Regions from separate parts of the Homo sapiens genome. Here all the other regions are linked to region 1. The links are contacts of gene promoters, found by promoter capture Hi-C in blood cells and fetal thymus (Javierre and others, 2016). All regions are on one chromosome and are shown on one strand. The core of a region is centred on a gene start or on the middle of the fragment in contact, and the rest is flanking DNA. Distances in the headings are between cores, read along the strand shown. Region 1 holds the start of TENT4A (terminal nucleotidyltransferase 4A). Region 2 holds the start of ROPN1L-AS1 (ROPN1L antisense RNA 1). Region 3 holds the start of MRPL36 (mitochondrial ribosomal protein L36). Region 4 overlaps CCT5 (chaperonin containing TCP1 subunit 5). Region 5 overlaps DAP-DT (DAP divergent transcript).

The links. Contacts are between HindIII fragments. The CHiCAGO score rates a contact against its expected background, and 5 or more counts as called.
Region 2: the fragment with the promoter of ROPN1L-AS1 here is called in contact with the fragment with the promoter of TENT4A in region 1 in 1 of 17 cell types (total CD4 T cells); the score reaches 6.8 in total CD4 T cells.
Region 3: a contact is called between the fragment with the promoter of MRPL36 here and the fragment with the promoter of TENT4A in region 1, in 1 of 17 cell types (erythroblasts). The highest score is 8.4, in erythroblasts.
Region 4: a fragment that was not itself captured here is called in contact with the fragment with the promoter of TENT4A in region 1 in 1 of 17 cell types (neutrophils); the score reaches 7.6 in neutrophils.
Region 5: a fragment that was not itself captured here is called in contact with the fragment with the promoter of TENT4A in region 1 in 1 of 17 cell types (non-activated CD4 T cells); the score reaches 6.3 in non-activated CD4 T cells.

What each region holds. Positions count from the first base shown.
Region 1 is chr5:6,712,085-6,714,784 of GRCh38, forward strand. It overlaps TENT4A (terminal nucleotidyltransferase 4A), which reads left to right and starts at 1,348. Exons shown (of 13, transcript NM_006999.6): 1 at 1,348-2,615. The coding sequence starts at 1,900. RefSeq lists an enhancer at 437-496 and silencers at 667-1,106, 1,217-1,586, 1,887-1,956, 2,327-2,700. The HindIII fragment of the contact is 9,360 bases long and covers 1-2,700 here.
Region 2 is chr5:10,440,502-10,443,201 of GRCh38, forward strand. It overlaps ROPN1L-AS1 (ROPN1L antisense RNA 1), which reads right to left and starts at 1,350. Exons shown (of 2, transcript NR_102746.1): 1 at 1,187-1,350; 2 at 234-872. It overlaps ROPN1L (rhophilin associated tail protein 1 like), which reads left to right and starts at 1,378. Exons shown (of 5, transcript NM_031916.5): 1 at 1,378-1,797. The coding sequence starts at 1,667. RefSeq lists a silencer at 1,232-1,491. The HindIII fragment of the contact is 3,763 bases long and covers 1-2,327 here.
Region 3 is chr5:1,798,424-1,801,123 of GRCh38, forward strand. MRPL36 (mitochondrial ribosomal protein L36) reads right to left here and starts at 1,414. Exons shown (of 2, transcript NM_032479.4): 1 at 1,369-1,414; 2 at 1-524. The coding sequence starts at 512. The coding sequence ends at 201. RefSeq lists a silencer at 884-1,293 and enhancers at 2,374-2,423, 2,484-2,613. The HindIII fragment of the contact is 7,489 bases long and covers 1-2,700 here.
Region 4 is chr5:10,254,555-10,257,254 of GRCh38, forward strand. CCT5 (chaperonin containing TCP1 subunit 5) reads left to right here. Exons shown (of 11, transcript NM_012073.5): 3 at 120-284; 4 at 1,401-1,599. Among named protein-coding and RNA genes, the nearest start is that of CCT5, 5.6 kb to the left of the region's middle. The HindIII fragment of the contact is 3,553 bases long and covers 1-2,700 here.
Region 5 is chr5:10,764,525-10,767,224 of GRCh38, forward strand. The region is part of intron 1 of DAP-DT (DAP divergent transcript); the gene reads left to right. Among named protein-coding and RNA genes, the nearest start is that of DAP, 4.6 kb to the left of the region's middle. The HindIII fragment of the contact is 2,724 bases long and covers 1-2,645 here.

The DNA of each region.
Region 1 (2,700 bases), core at 98-2,597:
CCCCAAAGCCTTTGTATGCAACACACGGACCTTTCCTGTTGGGGCGATGTTTGAAGGGTCAAGTGCTTAGTAATGTCTACTCATCTGTGCTGGAGACGAGGGGGTAGCATTTACAACACGCCTGTACGAAGGCCAGGTCCCGTTCTACTTAAAAGGCTTGGAGCCCGGGCGCCACTGGGCTAAGGCAGCTTCAGGGCCCTGGCCCGGGAGTGCATTTGCGGGGACTCCGCCTGAAGACAGGGCGGCAGCCGCGGGGCCTCACGTCGCCCAGGCTCGCGGGGCACCGCGATGATCAACGACACTGGCGTTTGCTTTGGACCTCACAGGATGTGTGGTTGGCGCTGTATTCCAAACAGTGCCACTGTCAACCCGGCTTCCATCGCGCTCGGGACACCGGGATGGCAAACGGCAGGCTGTGGATGGCGGGCGGTTTCCCACTGACTCCTGCCCGCTCGGTGCAGCTGGAAAAACCGAAGCCGGGGGCCGGACGCGCCGCCCACCAGCCGTTCCTCGGCTAGCACTGCCCATTTTGCCCAGGGAATTAACTTGGAAGTTTTCACTTCACTTTTCGCATAGAAAATCATTTTAAAAAGCAAACCAAACGCCTGTAAGCAGACCCGCTAGGGAGCAGGACTCTGCCGCGTGTCCTTCCCGGCTCCGGAGCGGCGGAGCCAGCCACCCGGCACGGCACGCTGGCCGCTCACCCCGCGAGGTGCAGGGAGCACGTGGGCCGACGCGCGGACCCCAGAGAGCGCAGCGTGACCTGCTGCACGGACCCTCGGATGAGAGACCTGGGGCGGGATCTGCGACCGGGGCCCGCCCTTACGTCAGGAGGGAGGGCCGGCCGGCGGGGGAAGCGCCTGCGGTGGCGTCCGCTGCCCCCGCCCGGCTGCTCGGAAACTTCCACCGGCGGCGGTGACGGCCACGCTGCCCTGCGCACGCGCAGCGCGGCTCAGGCGGCAGCCCGGTGACACCGGCCCTAGCGCGCATGTCTGCACGCCGGGGTCTGCGCGCCGCGGCGGGCCGAGGGCGGCGTGCGGGCCTTCCAGCCGCTGCCTATTCCACCCAACGCCGGCCTAGTCAGTAATGGCTCAACGCCACCGCCTCTCCCTCCAGCCCCTCCCAGTCGCGTAGCTTCTGACGCCGTCCTCACCCCGCCCGCGGCCGACGGGGCCCCAACGCGCAGGCGCGGTAACCACGGCGGCAGTGTCTAGTGAGGATTTGAAATCGGTCGCGCGTGCGCACCGGCGACACGGCCCGGCGACCGAGGCCGCGCTTCCTCCTGCCGCCCCCGTCCCCGCCCCCTCCCCCGCCCCTCATTGGAGCGGACGCGGCGGCGGCCCCCTCCTTCCCCCGCGCTGTCGCCGCCGAGAGTGTCTTTTCACCGCCGCCGCCGCCGCCGCCGCAGGAGCGCCGAGCCAGCGGCGCGAGCGTGACTGAGGGCTAGCCGCACGGGCGGCGGCGCCTCCCGCGGGTCCTTCAGCCGCTCGGCGCCTGGGCCCGCCCCCTCGGCCCCGCCGCCCGCCCTTCTCCGATGGCCTCTCCCCGCGGCCCGAGTGGAACGCCGCCGCCGCCGCGGCCCCCGCGCCCGCCCCGCGCCGCGTGAAGCGGGAGCCCGGAGACCGCAGCCGCCCGCTGGGACGCGCCAAGCGCCGGAGCCGCCCGCCGCGGCCTGCCGGGGCCCATCACCGCCGCCGCCGCCCCACGCCGGAGCCCGACGGGAGCGCGGCTAGAGCAGGAGGCCGGGGCTCGGCCCGCCCGCCGCCGCCGCCGCCGCCGCCGCCACCGGCCCAGGCCCGTCCGTCCGTCCGTGCGCGCGCGGCCGGGCCTCGGGGCGCGGCGGGGGCGGGGCCGCGTCGGGGCGGGCGGGCGCGCGGGCCCCGCGGGGGCGGCGCGTGGATGGATCCGCGCGTGGCCTGGATCCAGCCCGAGCAGAAGGGGCCGGCCAATGCCCTGTGGATGCAGATCTGGGAGACCTCGCAGGGCGTGGGCCGCGGCGGCTCGGGCTTCGCGTCCTATTTCTGCCTCAACTCGCCGGCGCTGGACACGGCGGCCGCGGCGGGGGCGGCCGGGCGGGGCAGTGGCGGCCTGGGCCCCGCGCTGCCCGCCGCGTCGCCCCCGCCGCCCGGCCCCACCGCGCCCGCCGCGCTGCCCCCCGCGCTGCTGACGGCGCTGGGGCCCGCGGCCGAGGGCGCGCGGCGCTTGCACAAGTCGCCGTCGCTGTCGTCCTCGTCGTCGTCCTCCTCGTCCAACGCGGAGTCGGGCACCGAGAGCCCCGGCTGCTCGTCGTCGTCCTCCAGCAGCGCCTCGCTGGGCCGGCCGGGCGGCGGCCGCGGCGGCGCCTTCTTCAACTTCGCCGACGGCGCGCCCAGCGCCCCTGGCACAGCCAACGGGCACCCCGGGCCGCGCGGCCCCGCGCCCGCCGGCTCCCCGTCGCAGCACCAGTTCCACCCGGGTCGCCGGAAACGCGAGAACAAGGCCAGCACCTACGGCCTCAACTACCTGCTGTCCGGCAGCCGCGCGGCCGCTCTCAGCGGAGGGGGCGGCCCCGGGGCCCAGGCGCCGCGGCCCGGCACCCCGTGGAAGAGCCGCGCGTACAGCCCGGGCATCCAGGGGTGAGTGCGCGGGGAGGCCGCGGGGGCGGGGGCGGGGCCCATGGTCCTGGCCGGCGCCCGCGGTGCAGACACCCGTCCCAGGCGC
Region 2 (2,700 bases), core at 100-2,599, 3.7 Mb after region 1:
ATTTTTGTCCATATTACTTTTTATAGTATTTCTGTAGGGTAAGTTCCCAGAAGTAATATTGCACGATCATCGAAAAATTTTAGTGTTACATTACTGCCCCATAAAGGTACTAATTAACATCCCTCTCAACAACATAGAAGATTCCTTTTTTTTTTTTTCTTTTTTTGGGTGGAGGGGGGCGGGGACAGAGTCTTACTCTGTCGCCCAGGCTGGAGTGCAGTGGTGCCATTTCTGCTCACGGCAACCTCCACCTCCCGGGCTCAAGCTATTCTCCTGCCTCAGCCTCCCAAGTAGCTGGGAATACAGGCACGCGCCACTACGCCCAGCCAATTTTTGTAGAGAAGGGGGTTTCACCATGTTAGCCAGGCTAGTCTCGAACTCCTGACCTTGTGATCAGTGCTGGGGTTACAGGCGTGACCCACCGCGCCCGGACGGATTTCTTGTTTTCATACTGTCATCAACTTTAAATACAAGTATTTTCAGTTTTTGCCAATGCTGTTAATTTAGAAATGTGTATGTATATATTGTCTGGTGGGTGTTTGGATGGAAACGATCAAAATCGGGCAACTTCCCCAGTTTCCTTGAAGGGAGTGCTTGCCATCGGCCCCTCTGGGAAGTAGCTCTCCGTAGTTCTCCATCTTCCTGTTTTGAGGAACGCAGGAGGAGGTGGATCTGGAGTCTCATCCATTCGGTGGCTGTTAACGGCAACTGCAGCAGCCAGCCAGGTCACCCCCTAAAGCAAAGTTAACCCCTTGCATGGTGCCTTGGTCAGCACCCACCAAATTCGAGGTTTCTCCTATCCTTCGACTCGAGGCTCTTTTGACAGATGTGATTTATTTCCTCCTAGAGCCAGTCACATTGGCTCAAGCAACCTATCGTAAGAAAACAAATACAATAGTGTTTTAGCTGGAAACTGCCCACTGTCTAAGCGGCTTTTTAAATTAAGAACTCAGGTTCACTACGGGATGGCTTAGGCCAGGGAACAGCATGTGCGAAGTTCGAAGCCCGAGAAGTTTGGAGGAGCGGCCCCAGGCGCAGGCGGGTCCCGCAGCGGGGCCCGTGCCGCCCAGGCGATCAGCCCCTTCACTTAACCCGCTTCCCTCCTAGCAGGCCCGAGTCCCCTAGCCTCAGCCTCACGCAGCCAGAGCAAGGGGAAGAGGGAGTCCTTCGTGAGTTCGCCGCTCACATTCGGCGGTGGGAAACCGATCCGAAGATGCTTTTGTAGGCGAAACGCTCAGCTCGCGCGGCTCTGAACCACCGGGGAGCAGCGGCTGCTGCTAGTCGGACTACGCCAGCACCTCCTTGTCCAGCCCGGGAGCAGCCCCGCCTCGCTCAGGGCCGCGTGCGCGTGCGCGGCTCCAGGGGCGGGGCCTGCTCGCGTCCCGGGTGCCTGGATACCGAGCGCGTCCGTAGTGGCGGCTGGCGCTAGGGAACTGCAGGGTCTAGGGTGTTGTCGGAGTGGCAGTTGGTCCGAATTTCTCCCGAAGCCCGCGGAGGAGCGGGTAAGAGCCCCGCGAATCCGGCCCCAACCTCGGGAACGGGATGGGAGGCGGCCCTGGCCGCAAGCCCCGCGCTGCTAGCGGGTCCACCGCGTCGTAGCCGACAGCCGCCCTTCTTCCTCGCAGCGCGCCGCGATTCACCAGCCTGGTCCCTTCTGCGGAGAGCGATGCCGCTTCCCGACACCATGTTCTGCGCTCAGCAGATCCACATTCCCCCGGAGCTGCCGGACATCCTGAAGCAATTCACCAAGGCTGCCATCCGCACCCAGCCGGCCGACGTGCTGCGGTGGTCCGCGGGGTAAGCGCCCTTGGCCCGGGGAGCTGTCCGGTCTACATGCCCAAGCCAGACGAGCCCAGAGAGCCCTCCTCCCGGACCAGGGGCCTTACGCGGCACTCAGCGTCCTTAAGAGTATCAGGCAAAACTTTCCCCTTAGCATTGGTGACATCTATACTTGAGTGTTTTATCTAGGAACCATTTCGATTTATCGACTATGAGACCCGAAATCATTGCAAAATGCTCACTTACCTACAACGTAATGGCAACTCAATTGTTTAAAAGTGTTTATGATGAAGATAGACTAAAACTTAACAAAGTAATTGCATTGGGCAAAAAAGTGTTTACATTATGTTAAAAAAATTACACGGTTGCAGTCACTTTGTGAAATGACTTTACAAAGAGGAATATTTTAGCTAAGTTCCTCATCTGCAGAGAGTCCTCTCAGAGCTATGTATACCCAGAGCTGGTTAAATTTATTAGAACCGGAACGACCGTGGTCATACTGAGGTCATCATCCCTAGAGTGCTCAGGGTAAACTGTCCAGCAAATGAAGCTTCACAGTTTATTTTTTGCCACAAACATTCCAACACTTGCCAGGAACAGACATTCATAATCTCAAAGTTACAAGTCAACAGATCTTAGAGGCATTAAAAGAAATCCTCTTGGTTTTACAGGAGAGCTCTTTGCCCCTTTTCAATAAACAGATGTAAAACAAAAACTCACTTTTATGATGACAAGAGTCAGCACAGGTGTAAATTTAATTTAAATATTTTAGTCATCAACATTTCAAATTTTGGCTGGGCTTGGTGGTTCATGCCTGTAATCCCAGCACTTTGGGAGGCCAAGCTGGGAGGATCACTTGAGCCCAAGAGTTTGAGACCAGCCTGGGTAACACAGCAAGACCCCATCTGTATTTTTTTTAAT
Region 3 (2,700 bases), core at 164-2,663, 4.9 Mb before region 1:
TTGGAACGTTTTGGAAATAAGATAACGCAATGTCTTCTATAGTTACTCATTTACACTGAAACGTGATGGGTAACTTTTAGGGCGTTTGCTTCCAGTCACTTTCCCCTGACTCCTTGATGTGATAATTCCTTCCATAAGATACAACCATTCTCCCAAGTGATGCGATGACGAGTATGTGCGTGACTCTGGAGGGAAAGGGTCTACATCTGTCTCTGCTTGTGCCTCGGATGGGTTTTACAGTAGACGTACCACCGACCCCGCCTCTTCACCAGGTAACAGTCCTTGCAGCGCTTCTTAAGGACAGTCTTGTTTTTGAACCCCAGCGCAGGCAGCAGATGGGGCAGGAGGCCGGGTGAGAGAAGTGAGCGCACTGCTGCCCCGGGTTCCACAGCCACGGGGGCTGCACCTCGAATGGATCCAAATAGAAATGTGGAGAGGGCTCGAGGCTTCACCGTGTGACGACTGAGATAGAGCAGAGGGTTCACCATTTTCCTTATAAAAAGATTTGCCATGTTGTGGTGAATCTATGGGAGAGAGAAAAAAAGGAGTTATAGCTTCTCCTGCACTTCCACCTGCTCTTTAAGGCTTCCTTTTCTCTGTTTCACTGAGGCTTGGGAAGGCAGGGACCTCGGGGACTGAGGGTGTTCCCATACCAGCTGCAGCCTCGACCTGAGCTTGAACACTGCCTTAATCAGCCAAGTGTGCCAGGAGAATAAGGGGCAGTGGACGGTGGCTTCCTTCCCTTTCCCGCCTGCTGCAAGTGTAGGTGAGTGTGCAAAGCCCTGCGATGTTGAGGAGCCGCTCACTTGGCTGGGAGGGAGCTTAAACTTAGGCCGCATCCCTTTCCAAACAGACACCAGGTCAAGGACGGTTCAACTGATGAGCTCCTCCCTCCAACTCTTCCCAGACCCAGGGGCCCTCCCTCGGGCCAGTTTCGGGACAGGCCCCCGCTCCGGAAGAGCACGGAACTCTGGCACCCCGGTCGCCCGCCCCTGCTTCCCCACGCGCCCCGGCCCTTAGGGTTCAGCGGCCCCGGCTGGGAAGAGCTGGGCCTGCAGGGCCCGGAGGACACTGCGGCACCGGAGCCGGCCCTGCGCGCGGGCTGTGAGGTCGCGTTCGGGAGCCGCCAGTTCTCCCGCCCCGGGGTCGCTGGACACCCCCTCCTGTCGCCAGGTCGGGCGCCCACGGTCGGACCCGCACCCCCCAACCCTGGCCCTCTGAGACCGCCAGGCCCCGGCCCACGCTCCTCTGACCGCAGCCCACTCGGGGAGACACGCCCGAGGGTCCCAAGGTGGCCGGCCCCACCCTCTCGCAGCCCCCACTCTCAAGACACCCGGGACCCCTGACCTGAGAAGACGGCTCCCTTACCCGGCCGCACGCTCTCACCCGGCGCCGACCCCTGCGTCTGCGCACTGGCACGCGGACGCTGCTGCCAGGAAGGAAGATGGCGGCGGGGGGGGGGGTCACGTGGCGTGCCCACGTCCAGTGCGGGGCGCAGAGACGCAGCAGCGAGTGCGCAGGCGCTGGAGTGCGACGTATCACTCCCCGACTGCGCGCACTCTGCGGGCCACCGGGATCGTCGTGCTGTTTGGAGCGCTCTCGGGAAAAAAAATGCAAAAACCAGGAACGAAAATGGATATCCGCAACGAAAAAGAAATTACAACCACTTAGGCCTTAGAAAAAACTGGCAAATACCAATGTCAAAACAAACTGAGAAAGAGGACATGTTTTTAAGTGGACAGGAGAAATGTAAACAGGCTCCGGGAAACGAGTGGAGACGGGCAGTAGTTTCAACTGGTTACGGCTGTTTTCCCCAACATTATGAAAAACTTCGGACATAGAGAAAAAGGGAAAGAACTGTACGGTGAACACCCATATACTTGCCACCTAGATTCTACCCTTAGCTCGCTTATCCCTGCCTTTTCAGGTATCTACCCGTAACTCCATTCGCCTTCCTTTTTGTGTGTGTCCGGGTGAGTTGCAGACGTGGCTGCGTCCACTCCGCGCTCCCTGCAGGCCCCAACGCTTCATCGCAGCGCCCACTTTTTCCACCTGACCCGGCGAACACCGGGCGGGCCGCTGGAGTTTATCAGCTCCAGGACAAATCTGCCTCTGACCACCACGTTTGCTGGGACATCTTTGGGACCGGAGGTTTTCATGTGCATTCTTGTTTCTCATGCCTTTCCTCCTCTTTATCATCTTCCCCGCCACTCATCCATCTCTAGTGTTTTGTTCTTGGAGTCACGTGGTCCTCAGGCTCTGACCACAGCAAAAGAAAAGCTGGATGCTGGAGCTTAAGCTGGGATTTATACCCAAGTCAACTCTAAGCAAAACGGGCCTTTTTAGAGGCTGTATTTGCATGCTGTAAAATCAGTCGGTGTACTAGGCTTTGTTGCAGAAATCCCCAATATACGTTTCCTCTGCGGCTCCCCGTAACCACACACAGGAACGCTTGCCTTGAACGAGGAGAATGCACTTCCAGTCTCGTCTGCTAAGCAGTTGACTCCTTCACCCAATAATTTTGATATTTAAATGTCTCATGATTATCGGTTACCATAAGAATATAAACAATGTATTTTCAGTTTACATCCTCCCCTGCCTGTCCGCTAAATAAGAACCACTGGGTACTCCTAATCGCTGAAGGTTTCGCACACCATTGCCTGCCTCATCAGGGCCCTAGCTCTAGCCTGCGGCTGCAAC
Region 4 (2,700 bases), core at 3-2,502, 3.5 Mb after region 1:
TGCATTATTTGTATATAATAAATTGCACAGATAAGAGCTGGGTCAGGAGGTCTTGTTTTATAGTTTGTGATATTGGTTGCCAGTTTTTTGCGCAAAGCCTACTAAACGTTGTTTTTTAGGGCTTGATAAGATGATGGTGGATAAGGATGGAGATGTGACTGTAACTAATGATGGGGCCACCATCTTAAGCATGATGGATGTTGATCATCAGATTGCCAAGCTGATGGTGGAACTGTCCAAGTCTCAGGATGATGAAATTGGAGATGGAACCACAGGAGTGGTTGGTAAGAAAAGACAAAACATCCTTTCTCATTTAAGAGACGTCATTTAAGACCACAGGGCTAACATGCCTGCTGAGATTGTTGTCTCTGAATCAGAGCATGAGGAGACAGACAAATCCAAGTTGAAAACATGCTACAAAACAAATGTCGGACTTTCAAAACTGACAGTGTTACAAAAGAACAGAAAGAGGGCTGGGGATTGTTAGGCATGGAGAAATGTGTAATGATTGATTGGACACTGATTTTGCTTGTCTTTTAAGCTATAAAGGATGTTTGGGAAACGTGGAAGAATTTGATTTTGGATCATGTACTGCAATGCTGAGTTTCCTGAGTGATCTGTGACCATTATATTGCAGATGTGTAGGAGAATGCCCTTCTTCTCAGCTGTATACCTAAATACTTAGGAGTGACATGTCATGGTTTCTGTAACTAATTCTCAAATAGTTGAACAGAAACAGTATGTACATGTAGAGAAAATGTGGCAAAATGTTAATAAGTAAACTGGTATTCGTTTTAGTATTGTACCTTTTTTTTCTGAAGATTTGAAATCTTTAAAAAGTTGGGGAGATTGAAGACAAAATATCAGTAAGGTTACCTTTTCTGCAGATGAAATTTGAATTCATTCAACAAATATTTATTGGATACTATTGTATGCCAAGCACTGTTCTCGGTGCGCTTGGAGAGCTGTAGATTTAAACAAAATTCATCTTTGCGACCCTAAAATGAGGAGAAAGGAGGATGGGGGTGGGGGGAATAAATAATAAACACGTTTTAGTCTCATCACCAGGCTGAATTTCACTGAGTAGACCCTGGCCCAGGAAACATAATAGCTTTTTACCTCTTAGAAAAATGTTCTTTTTACATTATATTCTTTAGTTACGTTCTTCACATCACTGAGGGTTGAATGTTCATCTGTAAGGGGACACATGTCCTATTCGACCTTCGCTAGAACTAAAACGAGGCTTTCTTTTAAAAATAGAGGGCTTCTGCCTCTAAGATGACTTGCAGCTTAATTCTAGAAGCTGCTTCTTTCCATGATAGCATCTAACTTGTGCTGATTATACTAAAAGTGAAGTTTTGTTGTTTGCCTGAACTGATTGTCTGCTGGCTTATTTGCAGTCCTGGCTGGTGCCTTGTTAGAAGAAGCGGAGCAATTGCTAGACCGAGGCATTCACCCAATCAGAATAGCCGATGGCTATGAGCAGGCTGCTCGTGTTGCTATTGAACACCTGGACAAGATCAGCGATAGCGTCCTTGTTGACATAAAGGACACCGAACCCCTGATTCAGACAGCAAAAACCACGCTGGGCTCCAAAGTGTACGTTTCAGTAGATGATATGATTACCCATTTGTAGAGGAGGCAGTTTGTTTGCCATTTCTTAAAGGCAACACAAAATGACCACTGGTGGATTTGTATCGATTTGATTATTTGTTTTGATTACTTGGTTTTGCTTTGTTTTTAATGTAGATGTAGACAGATGCATTTTGTATTTAAGTTGAGAACTGAATTTCTAAGTTCAGGTATAAATCCCCTTGACAATATTTGCAAAATATAGTTATTTTAATTTAGCAGAATAGGTTGTGTTAAAAATCAGCTAAGGCTGGATGCAGTGGCTCATACTTGTAATCTCAGCACTTTAGGAGGCCAAAGCAGTAGCTTGCTTGAGCTCAGGAATTGAAGACCAGCCAGGGCAATGTAGTGGGACCCCATCGCTACAAAACAAAAAACTAGCCAGGCATGGTAGCACACACTTCAGCAACTCCAGAGGCTGAGGTGAGAGGTCGAGGCTGCAGCAAGCCATGATCATGCCACTGCACTCCAGCTTGAGCAACAGAGCGAGACCCTGTCTCAAAAAAAAAAAAAAGTCAACTAGAAAGGGTCCTACCTGGAGGATATGTGAATTTTCTTAACACTTCTTTCTATAATTTCTTTGCTGGGGAGCCATTGGGGGTGGGTTCCACTTTTTATTCAGCAAATTGCCGATCCAAAATTATAATTTAGTAAAGAGAGTCTTGAAAGCGACTTGTCTCTGGTGTTTTCAGCGTTCGTGTAATGTCCGTTTGCCAGGCTTACTGCCAGGTCTTATGGGCACTAAGACACAGCTCTTCTCCCAGGAGACTCTAAGCAACCTCAGCCAAGGGGTGCGCTGATTATGTACAATGCCAAAGACTTAAGGTCTGTTGCCGTAATATAACATAAAAATCCAGTGTAAGCTGCTTTATTACATTATATTAAATCAGTGAGAGATGTTTTCAATTGTGTGCTTGTGGTGGTTTTAGCAAAAAGGAATGAGGGATCTTCTAAACTCAGAGTAGTCAGGGAAAATGCAGGAAAAGTGTCTGCTTCTGTTGCCTTTTCCCCTGAGCAAAGCCTATGTTAGAGCAGAAGCCTTCAGCAATGCCTGCTGTCCTCCTCTAA
Region 5 (2,700 bases), core at 34-2,533, 4.1 Mb after region 1:
TCCTTCTGAAGAGGCAAGAATTGAGGTTGCTGCAGACCTGTACAGATTCACTGCCACTAACGTATTATATTTGGGTGCTACGTGATTCAGGTACATTCTGCTCCTGACAGTGTGACAGCCAAGTTAATTTTACATCTTCAAAGAACTCTTGATTTCCCACCTATCGGCAAATAGCTTCTCCTCTAGAATACAATCCAAGCTACTCATTACAGTGTGGAATAATCTGTCTACTCAATAGCATTTCTAATGAAGGAAATACTGTTAAGAAGGTAGTGAACTTCGCAAAAAAAAGACATTTATTTTTCAGCTTCCCTTGTAGCTAGGGGTAGCCAAGTGACACAGTTTTGACCATGGAAATCTGCTGGGGTGTTTTGGGGAAAATTTACATTCTTAATATGGGGACACCCCTTCCTCCTGGTGACATCATTTGTACCACCTTGAATTCAGACAGAAGGCCAAAGGTAGAACAATCATATCGCAACTGTGAGGCAATCAAAGGCATGAAAATCACAAGCTAAAGGTGACAGAGCAGGAAGGTCAAAGGCATGTGGGAATCTGAGGGTCCATGGAGGCGCTTCAGAGCTGTGGACTCCTCGTCCAGACTTTTTTGTTGTGTGGGAAACAAATTTCTATTAAATAAAGTCCTTGTGGTTGGTGTCTTCATGGGCAGCCAAATGCAACCCCTAGCACACATGGCCTACCAGACCCTGCATGATGGGGGTCCTGCCCAGTTGTGAGCTCCTCCCTCTTGGCTCCTCTGGCCACACTGGCCTTTCTGAGGTTCCTCTAGCAGGACAAGCCAATTCTTCCCCTTGGGACTTTGTGTTAGCCACTCCCACTGAGACAGCCAAGCATAAAGGGGTCCGCAGAGAAACTCTGACTACCTGCACACCGGAAGATGGGGTGGAGCCACAGAAGTTCACGCCCTTTACAGGGGAGAGGAGCCTGACCTCTTCCCGGGTGGAATCTGGGATTCAATCTGTGACGCGGGAAACCGGCTAGCAGGACTCTTGCTTTGCTGAAAGTCCCTGTTTCCTTTTTTTCCTTTTTGCCTAATAAATTCCATTTTCCCCACCCTTCAAAGTGTCTGTGAGCCTAATCTTTCGTGGTTATGTGACAAGGACGCTCTTTTTAGCTAGGCTAACAAGAAAGTCCTACAACACCACTGCCGAGAACTGTCTCTTCCAGATCCTCGCGTAGTTAACTTCTTCTTATTCTGGAATCAGCTTTTCAAGGGGCCTGCTCTGTCTTACTGTCTTTATAGCACTCTATCCTCATCTGAAATTCCTCATTTATCTGTCTGCTGGCTTATTGTTTTTCTCCACTGACTAGAATGTCAGCTCCATGAGGGGAGAAACCTAATCCATCTTGCCCACTAGGTATTCCCAGCACCTAAAACCATGGTGGGCACAGAAGAAGCATTCAACAGTTATTTTCTCCCCATAATTCTAGAACATAGATACATTTAATTTCTCACAACTGCTACCTAAATGAAGAGTAGCCAATGATGACTAAACAGAGAATGAAAAATGTATATAGCATATAGATGGCACATGGCCAGTGATCTTTTCTGACATTTGCTTTATCTTGTAAATACTTTGTGTGTGCATATGTGTGTGCACACGTGTGTGCATGCATGCATGGGAGTGTCCAGCCCCTCCAGCCCTAGATGCTGAGGATAAATGTCAGGCATCACCCACTGGTGATATAGATGTACTATGTAGATGTTCTATGTAGATGTACATACTCAGTAGATAGGATGAGAATTGTTGAATGAATAATCTTATTTGCATCTCACAATAACAGTAGGAGTAAGATGTACCAAGGAAAACAAAAACAAACAAACAAAATGGAGAAGAGAAGGATTGTTGGACTTATGTGGGATGCAACTCTGGTGAGTGTGACCTGGGACCCAGGCTGGATTTTCTAAGCCCCAGTTCCATTCCCCCAAGTGAGGGCTGACTTCTAAACAGAGTTTTGGGAACCATTTTCTTTTCTTCTCTAAATAGGCTGTTTTCTCTCTTTTTTTTTTTTTTTTTTAAGATGGGGTCTCTTTAGATGGGGTCTCACTCTGTCACCCCTGCTGGAGTGCAGTGGCACGATCTCAGTTCACTGCAACCTCTGCCTCCCAGGCTCAGGTGTTTGTCCCACCGCAGCCTCCCAAGTAGCTGGGACTACAGGCCCATGCCACCACGCCCAGCTAATTCTTCGTATTTCTGGTAGCGGCGGGGATTTGCCATGTTACCCAGGCTGGTCTTGAATTCTTGAGCTCAGATGATCCACCCATAAATAGGCTGTTTTCTAATCCCAAATGGTGGTAAATTCACTTAGTGTGAATGCTGTAAGCCCTGGAAAAAGTATTTGAAGAAGAAACGGAAAATGCAGATTCTCTTCTCCAGATGTGTATTTTGTGTCCGTGGCTACATCACTAAACCTTTCTGAGTCTCAGTGTCCTCATCTGCAAGTCAGAGATGTGAACACTAATGCCTCTCCCAGGAAGGTTGTGAGAATTAAGGGCTTTGACTAAACATGATTATGCCCGTACAGCTCCGTGTCACCCCACTTACCCCCTACAGGATCCTGAGACACAGGGGGTTCTCTGCCCTTTTTTGATGGAGAAATTGGATCTGTAGCTGGATTTTCTAAGCTTGGTGCAAGGATTGGTAGCTAGTGTGGGGAGACCCAAGAGAACCCAGCTCT